Linked DNA regions of Homo sapiens: all the other regions are linked to region 4. Evidence: promoter capture Hi-C in human tissues and cell types (Jung and others, 2019). All regions are on one chromosome and are shown on one strand. Each heading gives the region's core, a stretch centred on a gene start or on the middle of the fragment in contact. The rest is flanking DNA. Distances are from core to core; before and after follow the strand shown. Region 1 has its middle 140 kb from the start of LINC00595. Region 2 overlaps LOC124902468 (a long non-coding RNA gene). Region 3 has its middle 29 kb from the start of LINC00856. Region 4 holds the start of ZMIZ1 (zinc finger MIZ-type containing 1). Region 5 has its middle 290 kb from the start of LINC00595. Region 6 has its middle 6.9 kb from the start of LINC00856.

Region 1 (2,700 bases), core at 17-2,516, 660 kb before region 4:
TAAAGCAGATGGGGAGACACTAGCAGCCTGTTGGGACTTAGCTGCTACTTTGTTGGTATAAGTGACAGCTGGCTGGCCCCAGGCAGCTGCAAGATATGGCCTGGTCCGACTCTTTGGACAGTGCTTACTCTTCTCCCCAGTTAGCACGCGTTCTGTTGCCTGGGAGGGGTAGGTTGATGCACATGAAACATAGAACTTTCCAGAGATGCTCACCACACTGTCACCATGCCACATTTCCTTCTGCAGTGTGAACTTGCCCCTCCCCCATGAAGATGCAGACTCCCATCTCCCCCACCTTGAATGTGGGCTTGAGCCTACTTGATCAATACAGTGGGATGGAAGGGATGTTCTGAGACTTCCAAGGTTAAGCCATAAGAAGCTTTGCAGCTTCTGCCCGGGGCCTTTAGAATTCTCTCTTGGGATGCTCCTTCTGGGAAGCCAGCCTCCATACTATGAGATGGCAAAGCCATAGAAGAGGCCATGTGTAGGTGCTCTGGTGGACAGCCTCGGCTGAGTTCCCTGCAACAGCCCAGCCACGTGAGTGAGCCTTTTGGGATACCCAGATGGGCCAAACCTTCAGATGATGCCAGCCCCAGTGGACATCTGACTGCAATCCCATGTGAGACCTGGTGCGTGAGCTGCTCAGCTGAACCCAGTAAACCCGCAGAAACATGAGAGATGGTGATAAATGTTTGTTTGAAGTCACCAAGCTTTATGGTGGCAACAGATAAACAACACCAAGTTGGACTTGGTGCCAACTGGAGGAAGAAGTGACTGCTGACCACTTCTCTGTCTCCAAAGGGTGACTCCAGAGAGCCCCCAGCCTATGATTTCTCAGGATGTAGAGGAACGGACTTGGAGGTGGGAACCACATGATCTCCATTGTAAGGCCCACTAGCCTCTGAGATGCTTTCTTCAATTTGCACACTGCTCTGGGGCAAAAGACAGAGGGAAGGTTGGGACTGTTTCAAGGTCTAGTTTCCTCAGACTGTGGGGAATAACTAGTTTCAAGTGCACAGGTATAATGCCTTTACACACACCCTACATCCTGGTCCCTGTATGGTCTACTCCATGAAAATGGTCTAGATGCTTAGTACATGGAAGACGGAAGCAAGGAAATGGTGATGGAGCACCCATTCTGTGCCAGGTGGCTGACCTCCATTATTTCATTTGCTCTTCACAACAATTTGATGAGAGTAGAAGTATTATCCACATTGCACAGATGAAACTCGGTCAGAAAGGTTCAGTGATGTGTCCACACAGCAAGCAAGTGGCCAACCTGAAAAAACCCAGGCCGGCATCTCTACTGTTGATGACTTATGAATGGTCTCAAAGATACTGGGAAGATTCCCAGGGCTGTGCTTCATCCCCAGCTGCTGGTCAGGGCCTGAAATCCCCTCATTATTGCTTTGCTACTTTAGCTTAAATCCTGGATCCTGCCAGTGCCAATCCCTCTGGAAGGATGATGCATTACAATGTTATTAATCACCTACCCCAGGCAGACTGAGGTCCATCGTCTCTCCTGAGAGTCTGTTTTCATGGGAGGGAATGTGGGGTAGAGGCGCTGCTTTCAGGGACGGAAGAGAAACAGGTGGGGTCATAACACGTTCCTAGTTCAGGCTTTTCTCCATTCTTTCCAGATGGACCTTGATGGTGGGCTTGGAAAATCAAGATGATAGATCCTTAGTATGGGGCATGGGACAAGCCCCAACCCCTGCCTGAGACTGGCCTTCGCCAAGCCCAGTGGCAGCTCTAGAAAATATCTCTTTCTCCAGCTAATGAAGTCCATCCCTGGAATGAGCATGGGCACATTCATTGTCCTCTTCAGCTTCCTTCACATTTGGCTGGTTTCCCTTCAAGACTCCTGGGAGAGGCGTGTTTAGTTCTGGGCTCCAAACTCAAGGAGTGGCATTAAGCGACTGGTGCGAGGCCAGAGCAGACAGCCAGGCTGAGTGGGGAGGGAATGCCGATTCCTGATAGAGCAGTGCAAGGGTTCTCCAAGGGGAGGAGACCCGGGGGCTGGAGAGCTGGTTTCCACCCTGAGGATACCGGGTGGCTGAGTGCATTGCTGGACTTTGCCCATGCTCCTAATCCTTCTCTTTGGGATGGTTCCAGTTCTGGGGAGGCAGAGGCTACTTCACATGGGTGATCATGATGGGGAGTGACTACCTTGTCACTGGAGGTGGCTGAGCAGAAGACCTAACTGCCCATCTAGGCTCTGCAGAGAGGCTCCCACGGAAGGAGAAGGGACTGGGTGACCTTGGAGACCCCTTATCATGTTTCATTCCCAGGCTCTGAGAAAGGACAACCCCATCCTGGTGCAGCAAGATTTTAACCCCCTGGGGTAAAAGGGGGGGAACAAATTGTTGTGGCTGTCCCGGCGCTCACCAACCCTCCCGGCTCCCTTTACTCTGCTCTTTGGAGGTCTAACTTCCCTTCGGCAAGGAGCCCTTGCTCCTTTCTTTTCTCCCTTCCTGCTTTCCTTTCATTCATTTAACAAATTCTTGTTCAGCAAATTCTTTCTTGCAATGCCTCCTAGGATATTGGGCAATGCGCTTAGTCTTGGGGGACCCTGGAGTGAGGAGAATGAATACCGCCCCTGCCCTTATGGAACAGCAGTGGGGAGCGCCTGTGGAATAGGGGAGTGAGATGGATTATAGAAGTCTTGGGGGAAATCCAAGAAGGTTCAAAGTGAGGGCC
Region 2 (2,700 bases), core at 131-2,630, 740 kb before region 4:
AGTTCCTCAAGGTGCATCATTAGGTTGCTTATTTGAAGTCTTTCTACTTTTTTTGATGTAGGCATTTATTGTTATAAATGTCCCTCTTAGCACTGCTTTTGCTGTATCCCATAGGTTTTGGTATGATGTGTTTTTATTTTCATTTGTTTCAAAAAATTTTTAAATTTTCTTCTTAATTTTTTCATTGGTCCATTGGTTGTTCAGGAGCATGTTATTTAATTTCCAAGTATTTTTATAGTTTCTAAAGTTTCTTTTTGTTATCGATTTCTAGTTTTATTCCATTGTTGTCTGAGAAGATACCTGATGTAATTTTGATTTTTAAAAATTTGTTGAGACTTGTTTTGTGTTCTTACCTATGGTCTATCCTAGAGAATGTTCCATGTGCTGATGAGAAAAACGTGTATTCTGCCATTGTTGGATGAAATGTTCTGTAAATGTCTGTTGGGTTCATTTGGCCTAAAGTGCAGTTTAAATCCAATATTTCTTTGATGATTTTCAGTCTAGATGATCCCTATAAAACTGAGAGTGAGGTGTTCAAGTCCTCAACTATTATTATTTGTAGTAATACTGCTGTGGTGTTGGGTGTATATATATTTATAATTGTTACAGCTTCTTGCTGAATTGATCACTTTATCATCATATAATCATCTTTAAGTCAAAAATGATAAAAAGAGACAAAGATCATTAGTCTGTTTTATCTAACTACTCTTGCACACTTTTGATTTCCATTTGTGTGGAATATATTTTTTTCATCTCTTCACTTTCAGTTTGTGTGTATCTTTACAAGTGAAGTGAATTTCTTGTAGCAAATACATAGTTGGTTCATGTTTCTTTTTTCCCCTTTAGCCAGTCTGTATCTTTGAAGTAGGGAATTTAATCTATTTACATTTAAGGTTATTATTGACAGGTGAGGATGTATTCAAGTCATTTTGTTAATTGTTTTATCATTATTTTGTATATCCTTTGTTAGTTTCTTCCTCTCATTGTTTTTTTGCAGTTTGGTGGTTTTCTGTAGTGGTAATATTTGACTCATTTCTCTTTCTCTTTTTGTCACTTTTATATCTGGTCTACAAATGAGTTTTATACTTTTGTGTGTTTTTATGGTGGTAGGTACTGTTCTTTTCCTTCCAGATGTAGGGCTTCCTTGAGCATTTCTTATAGGCCTGGTCTAGTGGTGATAAATTCCCTCAGTTTTTCTTGTCTAGGAAAGATTTTATTTCTCCTTCATGTTTGAAGGATAGCTTTGCTTGTTAAAGTATTCTTGGCTGGCAGTTTTTTTTTTTCTTTCAGCTCTTTGAATATGTCATTTTATTCTCTCCCGTTCTGTAAGGTTTTGGCTAAGAAATCCACTGTTAGTTGAATTGGACTTCCTTATATGTGACTTGACTCTTTTGCTGTTTTTTAGAATTCTCTTTTTATCTTTGACTTTTGATGGTTTGGCTATAATATGCTTTGGAGAAGACTTTTTGAGTTTAATCTTTTTGGAGATTTTTGAGCTTCCTGTATCTGTCTATATTTCTTGTAAGACATGGGAAATTTTCAGCTATTATTTCATTAAATAGGTTTTCTATACTATTGCCCATATCTTCTCCAGTAAATCCTAAAATTTGACTATATGATCACTTTATGGTGTCCTATATATCATGTAGGTTTTTTCATTCTTTTTTCTTTTCTTGTTTTGTCTGACTGGGTTATTTCAACATTCTTTTGCTTAATCTAGCCTATTGTTTTAACTCTCAATTGTTTTTAAATTTTATTTATTGAATTTTTCATTTTCAGAATTTCTTTTTTTTTAAATTATGCTTATCTCTTTGTTGAACTTCTCATTCAGATCATAAATTGTTTTTCTGACTTATATGTATTGCTTCTCTGTGTTCTCTTATATCTCACCGAGTTTCTTAAATATAATTATTTTAAATTCTTTTTCAGGTGTTTTATAGATTTCCTTTTTGTTGGGAACTATTACTAGAGGCTTATTGTATTCCTTTGGAGGTGTCATTTTCCTTGCATTTTCATGTGTTTTTACATTGATATCTGCACATTTAATTTAATAATTACATCTTCCAATTTTATAGATTGGCTTTTGTAGGAAAAGACTTTTTTTCCATAGGTGTATCTATAGTGTTGGTTGGGTAGGGTGTTTTGGCTTTGATTCTGGATAGTTGCAGTAGTGTGGTCTTTGTATGATTTCTTCATCTGTAATCAGCATCAGTGGTGTTTGTGAGTTCCTCGGTGGCTTAGGCAGTGGTCATTAGTAGGGGCTGTGGCAAGACTTTACTAGGGACAGGGATGCTAGGCAGGCCAGTCCTTTGGTACCCAGTGGTGGTGGCAGCAGGCTGAGCATGCTGGTCCTCAGGCCCCTGATAGTGTATGTGGGTGTTGTTGGTCATGGGTCCAAGTGGGCCAGTCCTTAGGCCACCAGGCAGCTTGTTTGGATGCCAGAATTGGCAGCAGTGGGCCAAGTATGTGGGCATGTCTTTGAGCCCCTGGTTGGTGTGTGTAGTATTTATTTGTGGTGGCAGCAGTGGTGGAGGGCCAACTCTTGGGCCTCCAAGCAGCATGTGCAGGCATGAGCAGTGGTGGGCAGGTGGGTGCCAGTGGTGGTGGCAGAGGCAGACTAGATACACTAGTCCCTGGACTCCAGAGAGGCACACATGGGTGCTGGTGGCTGGCAGGATGGGCCTATCCCCAGGCCTCCAG
Region 3 (2,700 bases), core at 150-2,649, 850 kb before region 4:
AAGCCAGGGAACACAGATTTGAATCTACCTTTGCTGCTATCCTTGGTGGGAACCTGTGGGTCTCCAGGCAAGGGCCCCGAGGTGGGCTTGAATGGGAATAAGCACAGTACCGGCCCACTCTCTCCCTTCTCAGCCTCTCATTTTGCCCCCTTTCCAGGAGTCTTTCAGCCAGGAGTCCCAGAGGCTTGGCTGTCTGCATTCAGCCCGGGGCTGCGAATATCAGTGCGCCTTTCTTTTTATCCTTCCAGGTGCAGGTTTCCGGAGACAAATATACCCTCCATTCCCAGCCCCTCGATCTGTCTAAACACAATTTGACATGCGTTGCTATTAGCTTAGCACCTTATCAAATAATGCGGCCTGATCGAGATAAAAGGTTTTACAACCCTTGCTGCCTTTGTTTCTGCCTGCATTCACCCGCCGAGACAGCTAATAATTACCACCAAAGACAAAGAGAAATCTATACGCTCAGCTTAGAGGTTCCCGTGTGCATGTTAAGCAGCAGCCGGAGGAAAGAGAGGTGGGAGGAGATGGCCCCAAATGCAGCCCGGGCTTTGCAGCCTGCTGGAGAGAGTGGCCCCCTGGTTGCTGGGTGACCCTGTAGTTTGGTGCTGTCTAACCCTGGAGGTGGAGAGAAAGGTGGAGGCTGTGCCCCAGAGCCCTGCCCTGGGGTGTCAAGGCCTGGTTTGGCAGGTCAGGGTGGTGTGAAGGGAAAGGCAAGGATGCTGGCGTAGAGGGTTGCTGAGACCTGGGTTTCTGCCTGGCTCTGCTCCCAGGCTGCTCTGTGACCTTGGGTAGCTCCCTTGTCCCCTGTGGGCTTCAGTCTCTGTTTCCATAGCCTCTGGCTTCTGTGATAGGGCACCAAGGCAGTGTGGTGGGAGGGTGCCCGAGGCAGTGTGATGGTGAGAGGTGAAGCCAGCTGGACTTCCTGGGTGGAGTGGGGACTTGGAGAACTTTTCTGTCTAGCTAGAGGATTGTAAACGCACCAATCAGCACTCTGTGTCTAGCTAAAAGATTGTAAATGCACCAATCAGCACTCTGTAAAAAATGCATCAATCAGCACTCTGTGTCTAGCTAAAGGATTGTAAATGCACCAATCAGCACTCTGTAAAATGGGCCAATCAGCACTCTGTAAGGTGGACCAATCAGCACTCTGTAAAATGGACCAATCAGCAGGATGTGGGCGGGGACAAATAAGGGAATAAAAGTTGACCACCCCCACCATCAGCGGCAACCTGCTAGAGTCCCTTTGCAGCTTGCGGAAGCTTTGTTCTTTTGCTCTTCACAATGAATCTTTCTGCTGCTCTTTGTTTGGGTCTGTGCTACCTTTAAGAGCTGTAACACTCATCGCAAAGGTCTGTGGCTTCATTCTTGAAGTCAGCGAGACCAAGAACCCACTGGAAGGAACCAACTGTGGACACAATGGGAGTCTGGAGACCTCAGTTCGAGAGTCAGCTCAGCTGCTCAGGCAGTTGTATGTTGTTGTGGGCCTCCATTTCCCCATCTGGGAAATGAGGAGCTGGTTGGGATGATTACCGTGGGCATGTCAGGACTGTGCCCCAGGTGGTGGATAACGCAGCTGGCCTCTCCCTGGATGTCTATTCAAGGACCATGCCTATGTGGGGTCTTGACTGGGTGCTGGGGAAGGAGGAGATGTAAGTCTTCAACCGAGAACCTGTTCTAAAGAGGCAGTTTTCCTTCCAGCACCAACAAAGACAGAGTGAAATGGGAGCTCAGTGGGGGAGGAATAATTGTGAATGCAGTCTCAGAAGGCTTCCTGGAGGAAGAAGGGATGAGTGGTGCCAGGGTAGATGGGGTAGAGTGTCTGAATGGGGCTCTGTGCAGCAAGAGCAGTGATGAGGATTGTGAATAAAGTGGGCTGCAGGGGTTGTGAGTCTGTGATAGAACAGTCTGGATTCCAGCATCTGCTGGCACTGGCCACTCTCCAGGGGACACGGATTCCCATAGAGCTCAGGACTGTTGGGGGCTGCCTGGATTCCCCTCTCCCCCCGCCCTGGCCTGCTGTGGGAGGGATAGAGCTAGTGTGCTCAAAAATGTTTAACGGTTCCCTGTAAACGTCCCCATCGTGACCGATTCCACAATACCAATGTGACATCACCAAATGCAGAGTTGGGAAGAGATGAGCACACTTGACTCTCAGGAGTGGGTGTGAGCTGCCTCCAGCACACCGCAGGTTGGAGTCCAGTGTAAACCCAAGGAGTCAGGTCAGAGACCCACATGGTGTCAAGACTCAGAAGATAAAGGATGGAGTAGCACACATGCCACCTCCACTCCTACTTGTGCCTATGGCAGACATCACTAATCAATTGTGTCTCTGCTAAGCTCAGAATTATTCTCATCTGAGTGCTCCAGGCAGTCGCTAGCAATTGATTACAGTTGGCATACAAAATGACAGTTCTTTGCCATTGCAGATCTAGGCTAACCTCCACATTGTACACATGGGGGAAACTGAGGACCAGATAGGGAAGGAGACTCTCTTGAGGTCATCCAAACAGTTTGGGAAAGCTGAGGCTGGAAGGCCAGTGGCTCACCTCACAAGCTGGCACTCCCCTGTCCTCCCACACTGTCTTTGCTGTTGACAGCAGCAGTAACAAGGGAAAGGAACCTTGTTCCTAAGAGAGGTGGCCTTGGGCCTGGGCTGAGCATCTTATCTTCCCTGAAGTTCCTACCTCGAAGACAGGG
Region 4 (2,700 bases), core at 155-2,654:
TCCAAAGAGGGCTGCGCGGGCGCCAATTATGATTGGGACTGGGGGTGCCGAAAATCAGGGGTGGGGGGCCTCGAGGAAGGGGTATGGAAGAGGAAGTGGGAGAGGAGGGCGTGTGTTTGTGTGTGTACGTTAACGTGAGGATTTAGTGCCCAGGGGAACGTTTCGTGTTTTGTTTTTTGATTGTATGTGGGGTTGTGTACAGCGATGTGTGTGTGTAACTGCGTGTCTCTGAGCGTGCCTGCTGTGGCCGTGTAAGCGGGCATCTTTGTGAGGGAAAGTAAGCGAGTGTGTGGGGGCGCGTTTGTGGTTTGGGGGGGAGCGTGTTTGCAATGCTGAGGGAGCGAACGTGTGTGCCGTTCTTGTAGGAGTTTCCGTGAGAGTGGCAGTGGACGTGAGCCAAAGTGGGCGCGTAGTTGGATGCTCTCGGGGGGGGGGGGTGGGTCGGCTAGGGGAACTCCCGCGAGTGGGTGCACCCAACTGCGCCTCGTGAGTACCTTAGCTCTCCGCTATCTCTGGCAGTGCCCAGTCCGGGGCAGAGGGCCAGGCCCCAGCCTAGCAGCTCCCACGCAGCCCGCGCGCACAGCGCCCCGGGCGCTCCGCGCCGGGCCTAGGGGAATCCACGCGTCTCTGGACTGTGCTAGGTGCCGCGGATCAACTGTGGCCACCACACCCCCGCTCCCCCACAGCTGTCGGGGGGCCGCGCTCTAGTCTCCCTCAAAGTCACCCTTGGTGGTGGTGGTCCTCTTCCCACCCCAACCACCAGTCCCCGGGCTGTAGGAACAATTCCAAAGTCAACCCCAGGGGAAGGCTTTGGAGGTCCAGTTACCAACTCGCTTACCCCAATTCGGGTACCTGACAGCGCCCGGGGCCACGAGTGCACTCCAGGCGGGGGCGTGCCAGCGCGGGGCAGGGGCTCTCGGGTGAGCAGTGTGATTTTGGCTTCCTCCCCAAGGTGGTCCCTACCTAGGCTCAGCATTTGTTCCCCTCTCCAAACTTACTGGGGCTGGGGCCTGCAGGGGGGCTGGGGGCTGCAGGGGGCGTCAGGGAGTAGCGGAGGGAGTAGGGCAAGGAGAGAGGTGAGTGGACTGGTGGCGTAGCGGGGAACCAGGAGCCAGGAGAAGAAAAGCTGGGAGAGCGCCGAGACCGAGGAGCGAGGAAGAGAGGAAGAGAAAGGAAAGGAAAGGCGAGGGAGAGAACGAGGAGAGGCGAAAAGGAAAGGGGAAAGAGAGCGCAGAGCGCGAGCCAAGCCGAGCGCCGGCAGCGGCGGCGGCGCGGCGCGGCGCTCCACTCCGGCCTGACTCCGCACCGGCTTTTGCGGGCGGCCGGCGGCGCGGGGCCCTTTGGAAATAGAATAGCCAATGTAATCTGACACTTCAACTTGCTCGGCTCCGGGCGAGTTGATTCACTTACTCACCCCCTAACGCCGAGTTCCTTTTCACTGTCTGTGGACATTAAAAAAGCGAGCGGCGGCGGCGGGCGCCGGGGAGAGCGGGCGGCCGGGCGGCAGGCGGGCGAGCAGCGATCGGGCGGCCGAGCGAGCGAGCAACGCCGGCGCAGCGCGGTGACCCCAGCCCCAGCCGGCGCGGAGCAGGAGCCGGAGCCGAGCGGATCTCGGCGCCCTCGCTGCGCTCCTCCCGGCCCGAGCCTGCCCTACCCGGCGGTGGCGGCGGCGCGTCCTCCAGCGGCGGCAGCGGCGCTCGCAGCGCCCGGTAAGTTTGGGGCCAGAGCCAGGCGCCCGCTGGCTCCGGGGCTACCTCCCGCTCCCCGGGGACTCTCGGGGTGCAAGCGTGGGGATTGGGTGCTGGGGTTTTTCCCTTAAAGTGTCCCCCGGAGCGGGGCGACCGGCCGGCGGCGCGGGCTCCGCTCCGCTCTCCTTGGCGGCCGGGGGCCGAGGCCCGGCGGCCGGCGAGCTCCCGGCTGCGCGGAGCCGGCTTGGGCTGCGCGTGGGGGCCGGGTTTGTCAGGGTGTGCGGGGCGTAAGTGTGGTCGTGCGCGCGCGGACCCGGTGCCCGCCTCCTGCCGGCGCGCCTCCAGCCCTCGCTCCCTACACCCGGGGGCCGGGCAGGACCGGGAATCGGAGGAGGGAGGGAAGGACCGCCTCGGTCTCCTTCGCCTCCTCTGGGGAGATGCGAAGTTGTGCGCCTGTGTGTGTACAGGAACCGCTGGGGAAAGCGCTGGATTTCAGGATGGCAAGGGGTGGTGGTGTTAACTTGTGCGTCTGAATTTCCAGGGAAAACATACACTTTTGTAAATGGGAGGTGGGGGCGCGGTTAAGTTGTTTGTGTGGGAATTGCCCGGGGAAAGCTGGCGCGCGGTACAAACGAGAAACGCGGAGGTGTGTGTGCAGGGTTTTCTCCCAGGGCTTCGCAAGCCAGAGGGGCGCTCAGGCCAGTGCCTGGACGGGGCTGCCCCGGCCAGGAGGGGAGCCCAGGGGGAAGATGTGCGTGTGTGTGCGCGCGCGCGTTGCAAATACGAAAGTAATTTCCCCGTGTTCTTTCTTCCTCTCCGTCTCCGGCGGCGGTGGCCCCGGGGGAGTGGGAGGCCAGCCGGGGCGGAGGTTGGGGGGCCGGGGCTGGAGCCGGGGTCGGGGGGGGGAGGCGGGTTCTGGAAGCTTGCTTCACATTCCTGGCGTCTGGGCTGGGGAAAAAACAGTGGGGAGCGCGGCCTCGGCGTCTAGGGCGCGGGCAGCGGGCGCGCGTCG
Region 5 (2,700 bases), core at 130-2,629, 520 kb before region 4:
CACCAGGTCCCCTTCCAGTTAAATATTTGTCCCAAGTCCCAGATGATTTGATATGAGAGCCCCATGCCTAATGCTGTTTGTGGATTCATTGAATCAATTATTGTTTCGTTCATTCAATTCATTCAACAAATAGCTTCTCTGTGTCTACTACTATTTGCACTCAATTCTCAGAGAAGTAAATGTCTAAAGTACCCACTTAATAACTTAAAAGCTGATTTTACCAATTTCATTTCACTGTAAGGCCTCCCAAAGGATTAACATGTTAGTGTGCACCCCCTCTCGCACCAGCACACTTGCCCACAAAACCGCCTCCCATTGTTTGAAGGGAAACCTACAAGTGGATCCCTGCCCCCACCCCCACAGCACTTTCTAATTCAAATCATCTGCCATTCACTGGCTTTCTGCCCTGGGGCAAATCCTCCACCTTCAGTCCTACTTTGATCCTCTAGCCCAGGCCGCTTTCATTTCACAGTTGAAGTAACAAAGGTTAAAACAGATGACAACTATTTCTAGAGAGCTGGGTTTTTTGCCCCCTCAACTACGCACCGTGGTGAGGCGCCGAGGAGGCCACATCACAAGGCTGGAGAACCCTGGGAGCTTGGTAGTGTTGGTGAGCGAGGGTTTGTTCTTCTCTAGCCCACTATCCTAAAGGCTGACTTCCCTCCAAGGACTGAACCTCGAAATTTACAATGCAGGGCCCCAGGGGCTGCGGTGGGGAAGGGCCTTTCACTATTGCTGGCAGCTCCTAGGGCATTTTCCTGGACTTTGGGGGCAGATTACTATGAAACTCCTATCTCATCCTGCAGGTTGGGAAACTAAAGGGAAGTTCTTTGTCCAGGGTCAGAGCATGTGCATGGGCAGGAGGGAAGGTGGGGGAAGCAGGGAGTCAGTAAAGGAAAAACAAACCAAAACCCAACAAAACAGAGCCCAGTGCAGTGTTCCTCCTGGGGGTAGCCCTTTGATGCATCCCTGGTACCTAAGAAGCTGGCTCCAGCCAGGCCTCACCTATTAGCCTCAGGGACCATTCTCCCCAGACAAGGTCTCTGTTCACTGGGCCATGCCATTTTCTTCTCATCCCCCTACCACAACTCCACATACTTCCTTAGCATTGTCTTTTCCTGAATTACCAAACACAGCAGCCTGAGCTTCACCGGGGAGCTGGGAGCTGGGGACATGTTCCTGGGAGTCTCTAGATGGATGGCTTTGAGTTTTTCCAGCAGAAGAGGAGCAGCCAAACCCAGATGTGAGGGCCCTCCCCCTCCAAGTTCAGCCTGCCCTGGTGGCTTCCTTCCCAGAGTCAGGTCTTCTAAGGAGTGCTTAGCAAGTATGTCAGCTTCCAGACCAAGGCCTGCTGTTCTTGGCTCCGGGAGATGTTTTTCAGCACAGTATGCTTGCTGTAGACTGCTCTGCAGGGGTGGGGGTGGGAGGGTGAGGGCAGACCTCTCTACTGATCAGAATTCAGAGTATGACTCCTCCAATCTGTCCCCTTGGTGACTTTACATGTTCTCAGGACAGCTTTCAGAAAGCCTCCTGCCTGCTACTTGCACTTGGGGATGTAGGGGGAGGGGTCAGCAGTCGTGCGGGGACTATATGTGGAATTTGTTGAGATCAGGCAGAAGGAAGTGAAGACACCCTCTTCTGATTTGTGACATGTGAGAACATTCTCCTGACAGAAGCAGCTCCCGGTAATAGTAACAGCTTCCGGGCCCTCGACAGGCTGCAGCCCATCACCTTCAGCGTCCTGCCAAGCTCAGCAGCAGCGTGGCAGGAGGGGGCAGAGAGCTGGAGGCAGCGTCTGCCTGGGGATGGGGGCTAGAGGTAGACACCGGGAGAGGCAGATCTAGAGGGAGACTGAGAGAACAGAGACAGGGGCATGAGAGAGACAAACGGAAATTGAGGCAAGAAGAGATCAGATCAGGGAGATACAGGCGCCTGGGAAGGCAGAGAGTAGGAAGCAGAAATAGTGCTAAAGATGGAGACAAGTGGAGAAGGAACTGCAGAGATTCGGCCCTGGGCTGGCTACCACCCCCATACTCCCTGAAGGCCTCCCTGAATCCTGCAAACACACTCCCTGCTTGGAAGCCTAGCAGCTGGCCCAGCTAGGAAGAAAGGTAAGAAGGTGCCTCAGGCCAACCCACCAGCAACAAAAATGTCTGGACCTCTGGGGCTTACGGAGGGGTTCAGGACCTAGGATTCCTAGGTGTGCAGCTCTGTAGGAAACAGCTTTCTCCCTGATGTCAAGATTTGGGAACTTGGAGTGGTGCTATTTCTCTCAAAAATAATATCTTTTTAAAAACAAAATGTTGCTTTCTCCCATTTAAAAATAACCTTTTCCCACCCCTGCTACCTCATTACAAAAGAAAACAATGCAAGCTCATCATGGAGAACATGGAAAATATGAAAAGATACAGGAAAAAAATAAAACATGAATTGTAATCACATCACCTAATGATAGCCACTGCTAGGAATTTGATGGTTTTCCTTTCAGTCTTTTATCAATGCATAGAGCTATATAATCAGCAGTAATATGTCATAAGCATTTTACTAAATATTATTTGACACTACCACTTTTATTAGTGTATATATTCTAATATGTGGACAAGGCTTTCTTTATTGAGGTAATCTATGGTTGAATATTTAGGTTGCATGTAACTTTGCTACTATGAACAATGCTTTAATAAATATCTTTCTGCCTACATC
Region 6 (2,700 bases), core at 105-2,604, 830 kb before region 4:
TTTTTCCCGTGTGTCAGTTACATGTTTATGGTTTTTTTTTTTTAACTTTTATTTTGACTGTTTATTTATTTTTTCGGAAACAGCATTTTGCTCTGTCTCCCAGGCTGGAGTGCAGTGGCATGATCTCGGCTCACTGCAACTTCCACCTCCCAGGTTCAAGTGATCTCCCACTTCAGCATCCTGTGAAGCTGGGACTATAGGCGCCCATCACCATGCCCGGCTAATTTTTGTATTTTTAGTAGAGACAGGTTTTTGCCATGTTGGCAGGCTGGTCTCGAACTCCCGAGCTCAAGCAATCTGCCTGCCTCGGCCTCCCAAAGTGCTGGGATTACAGGCATCAGTCACTGCTCCCAGCGTTTACTTTTATTTTGAAATAATCTCAAGCTTATAGAAAAGTTGCAAGTATTAGCTGGGCATGGTGGCACGCACCTCGAATCTCAGCTACTCAGGTGAGAATCGCTTGAACCCAGGAGGTGGAGGTTGCAGTGAGCTGAGATTGTACTATTGCACTCCAGCCTGGGCAAAAGAGTGAGACTCTGTCTAAAAAAAAATAATAATAAAAAAAATAAAGCAAGAAAAGTTGCAAGTAGAGTATAAAGAACTTTTTTTTTCTAAACCCATTTGACAGTAAGTTGTTGACCCAATGCCTCATCATCCCTGGATACTTTAGTGCACATTTCCTACAAGCAAGGACATTTTCTGACATAACCTAATATGACCATCAGTATCAGGATGCTGACCTTGTACATGAAGACCAACTATTCCTCAGACACCATTCAACTTTTGCCAATTGTCCCAACAATGTCCTTTGCAGCAGAAAGATCCGGTTCAGAATCACATTTGCATTTAGTTGTCATGTCTCTTCATTCTCCTTTATCTGGGACAGTTCCTCAGGCTTTCCTTGACTTTCATGACCTTGGCACTATTGCAGAGTACAGGTCAGTTATTTTCTTGAACATCTGTCAGTGGGTTTTTCTGAAGTTTTTTCAGGACTTGCTTCAGCTTATTCATATTTGGCAGGAATATCAGAAGTGATGCTGAGTTCTCCTTGTTGCATCCCTTCATATCACGTGGGATTTTGATTTCTCTCCTTACTGGAGAGTGAAGCTTTGATCACTTGAAGATGGTTTCTGCCAGTTTTTTCCACTGTAAAGTTACTTTTTCTCGTTTGTAATTAATACTTTTTTTTAAATGAAGAGGTACTTTGAGACTGTGTAAATATCTTGTTCCTCCTAAACTTTCAATTTATTCATTTGTATATTTTGTCTATATAAACTCATGGATTTCTGTTTGATGCAATTCGTTATAATCCATTAATATCATTATTTATTCTGGTGCTCAAGCTGTCCTGGATTTAACCAGTAGGTGCCCCTTCAAGTGGGCTTCTGTATCTCTTTGATTTTGTCCCCATCATTCTTTGAACATTCTTTAATTTTTGGTAAACCAAGGTACTCCTCCTTAGCTTTGGAATCAGCTGTTTCTCCAGGGAGTCCTTGTTCCTTTTAGTGGAGAATGGTATTTAGAAGACAAGATCTGGGTCCTAGGTGTGCTCATTACTATTGGAGTGCCACAGCTCCAGCTCCCAGGTTCTCTCAGTGGACACACACGTAAGCATACATTCACACACTTGCATCTATTTTATATATATATATATATATATGTACTGATATGGTATGGCTGTGTCCCCATTCAAATCTCAACTTGAATTGTACCTCCCAGAATTCCCACATGTTGTGGGAAGGACCCAGGGGGAGGTGACTGAATTATGGGGGCCTGTCTTTCCCATGCTATTCTCGTGATAGTGAATAAGTCTCATGAGATCTGATGGGTTTATCAGGGGTTTCCACTTTTGCTTCTTCCTCATTTCTCTCTTGCTGCTGCCATGTAAGAAATGTCTTTCATCCTCCGCCATGATTATGAGACCTCCCCAGCCATGTGGAACTGTAAGTCAGATTAAACCTCCTTTTCTTCCCAGTCTTTGGTATGTCTTTATCAGCAGTGCAAAAATGGACTAATACAGTAAATTGGTACCAGTAGAGTGGGGAGTTGCTGAAAAGATACCTGAAAATGTGGAAGCAACTTTGGAACTGGGTAACAGGCAGAGGCTGGAACAGTTTTGGAGGGCTCAGAAGAAGACAGAAAAATTTGGGAAAGTTTGGAATTTCCTAGAGACTTGTTGAATAGCTTTGACCAAAAGCCTGATAGCAATATGGACAACAAGGTCCAGGCTGAGGTGGTCTCAGATAGAGATGAGCAACTCGTTGGGAACTGGTGCAAAGGTGACTCTTGTTATGTTTCAGCAAAGAGACTGGTGGCATTTTGCTCCTGCCCTAGAGATCTGTGGAACTTTAAACTTGAGAGAGATGATTTAGGGTATCTGCAGAAGAAATTTCTAAGCAAAAAAGCATTCAAGAGGTGACTTGGGTACTGTTAAAAGCACTCCATTTTAAAAGGGAAACAGTACAAAAGTTCAAAAAATGTGCAGCCTGATTATGCAGTAGAAAAGAAAAACCCATTTTTTGAGGAGAAATTCAAGCTGACTGCAGAAATTTGCATAAGTCGCAAGGAGCCTAATGTGACTCCCCAGGACCATGGGGAAAATGTCTCCAGGCCATGTCAGAGACCTTCACGGCAGTCCCTCCCATCACAGACCTGGAGGCCCAGGAGGAAAAATTGGTTTCATAGACCTGGCCCTGGGTA

Evidence for each region. Contacts are between HindIII fragments. The study calls those that stand out against the background at their distance.
Region 1: a contact is called between a fragment that was not itself captured here and the fragment with the promoter of ZMIZ1 in region 4, in 1 of the 25 tissues and cell types used here (dorsolateral prefrontal cortex).
Region 2: a contact is called between a fragment that was not itself captured here and the fragment with the promoter of ZMIZ1 in region 4, in 2 of the 25 tissues and cell types used here (dorsolateral prefrontal cortex and spleen).
Region 3: a fragment that was not itself captured here is called in contact with the fragment with the promoter of ZMIZ1 in region 4 in 1 of the 25 tissues and cell types used here (heart right ventricle).
Region 5: a contact is called between a fragment that was not itself captured here and the fragment with the promoter of ZMIZ1 in region 4, in 1 of the 25 tissues and cell types used here (dorsolateral prefrontal cortex).
Region 6: a contact is called between a fragment that was not itself captured here and the fragment with the promoter of ZMIZ1 in region 4, in 1 of the 25 tissues and cell types used here (dorsolateral prefrontal cortex).

The regions. Positions count from the first base shown.
Region 1 is chr10:78,403,992-78,406,691 of GRCh38, forward strand. No RefSeq gene overlaps it. Among named protein-coding and RNA genes, the nearest start is that of LINC00595, 140 kb to the left of the region's middle. The HindIII fragment of the contact is 4,448 bases long and covers 1-2,700 here.
Region 2 is chr10:78,325,346-78,328,045 of GRCh38, forward strand. The region is part of intron 1 of LOC124902468 (a long non-coding RNA gene); the gene reads left to right. Among named protein-coding and RNA genes, the nearest start is that of LINC00595, 59 kb to the left of the region's middle. The HindIII fragment of the contact is 5,759 bases long and covers 1-2,700 here.
Region 3 is chr10:78,218,676-78,221,375 of GRCh38, forward strand. No RefSeq gene overlaps it. Among named protein-coding and RNA genes, the nearest start is that of LINC00856, 29 kb to the right of the region's middle. The HindIII fragment of the contact is 4,517 bases long and covers 1-2,700 here.
Region 4 is chr10:79,067,562-79,070,261 of GRCh38, forward strand. It overlaps ZMIZ1 (zinc finger MIZ-type containing 1), which reads left to right and starts at 1,405. Exons shown (of 25, transcript NM_020338.4): 1 at 1,405-1,709. RefSeq lists silencers at 1-55, 856-925, 1,186-2,165, enhancers at 319-1,164, 2,366-2,415 and a cis regulatory region at 1,038-1,723. The HindIII fragment of the contact is 18,402 bases long and covers 1-2,700 here.
Region 5 is chr10:78,551,069-78,553,768 of GRCh38, forward strand. No RefSeq gene overlaps it. Among named protein-coding and RNA genes, the nearest start is that of LINC00595, 290 kb to the left of the region's middle. The HindIII fragment of the contact is 9,741 bases long and covers 1-2,700 here.
Region 6 is chr10:78,240,381-78,243,080 of GRCh38, forward strand. No RefSeq gene overlaps it. Among named protein-coding and RNA genes, the nearest start is that of LINC00856, 6.9 kb to the right of the region's middle. The HindIII fragment of the contact is 7,188 bases long and covers 1-2,700 here.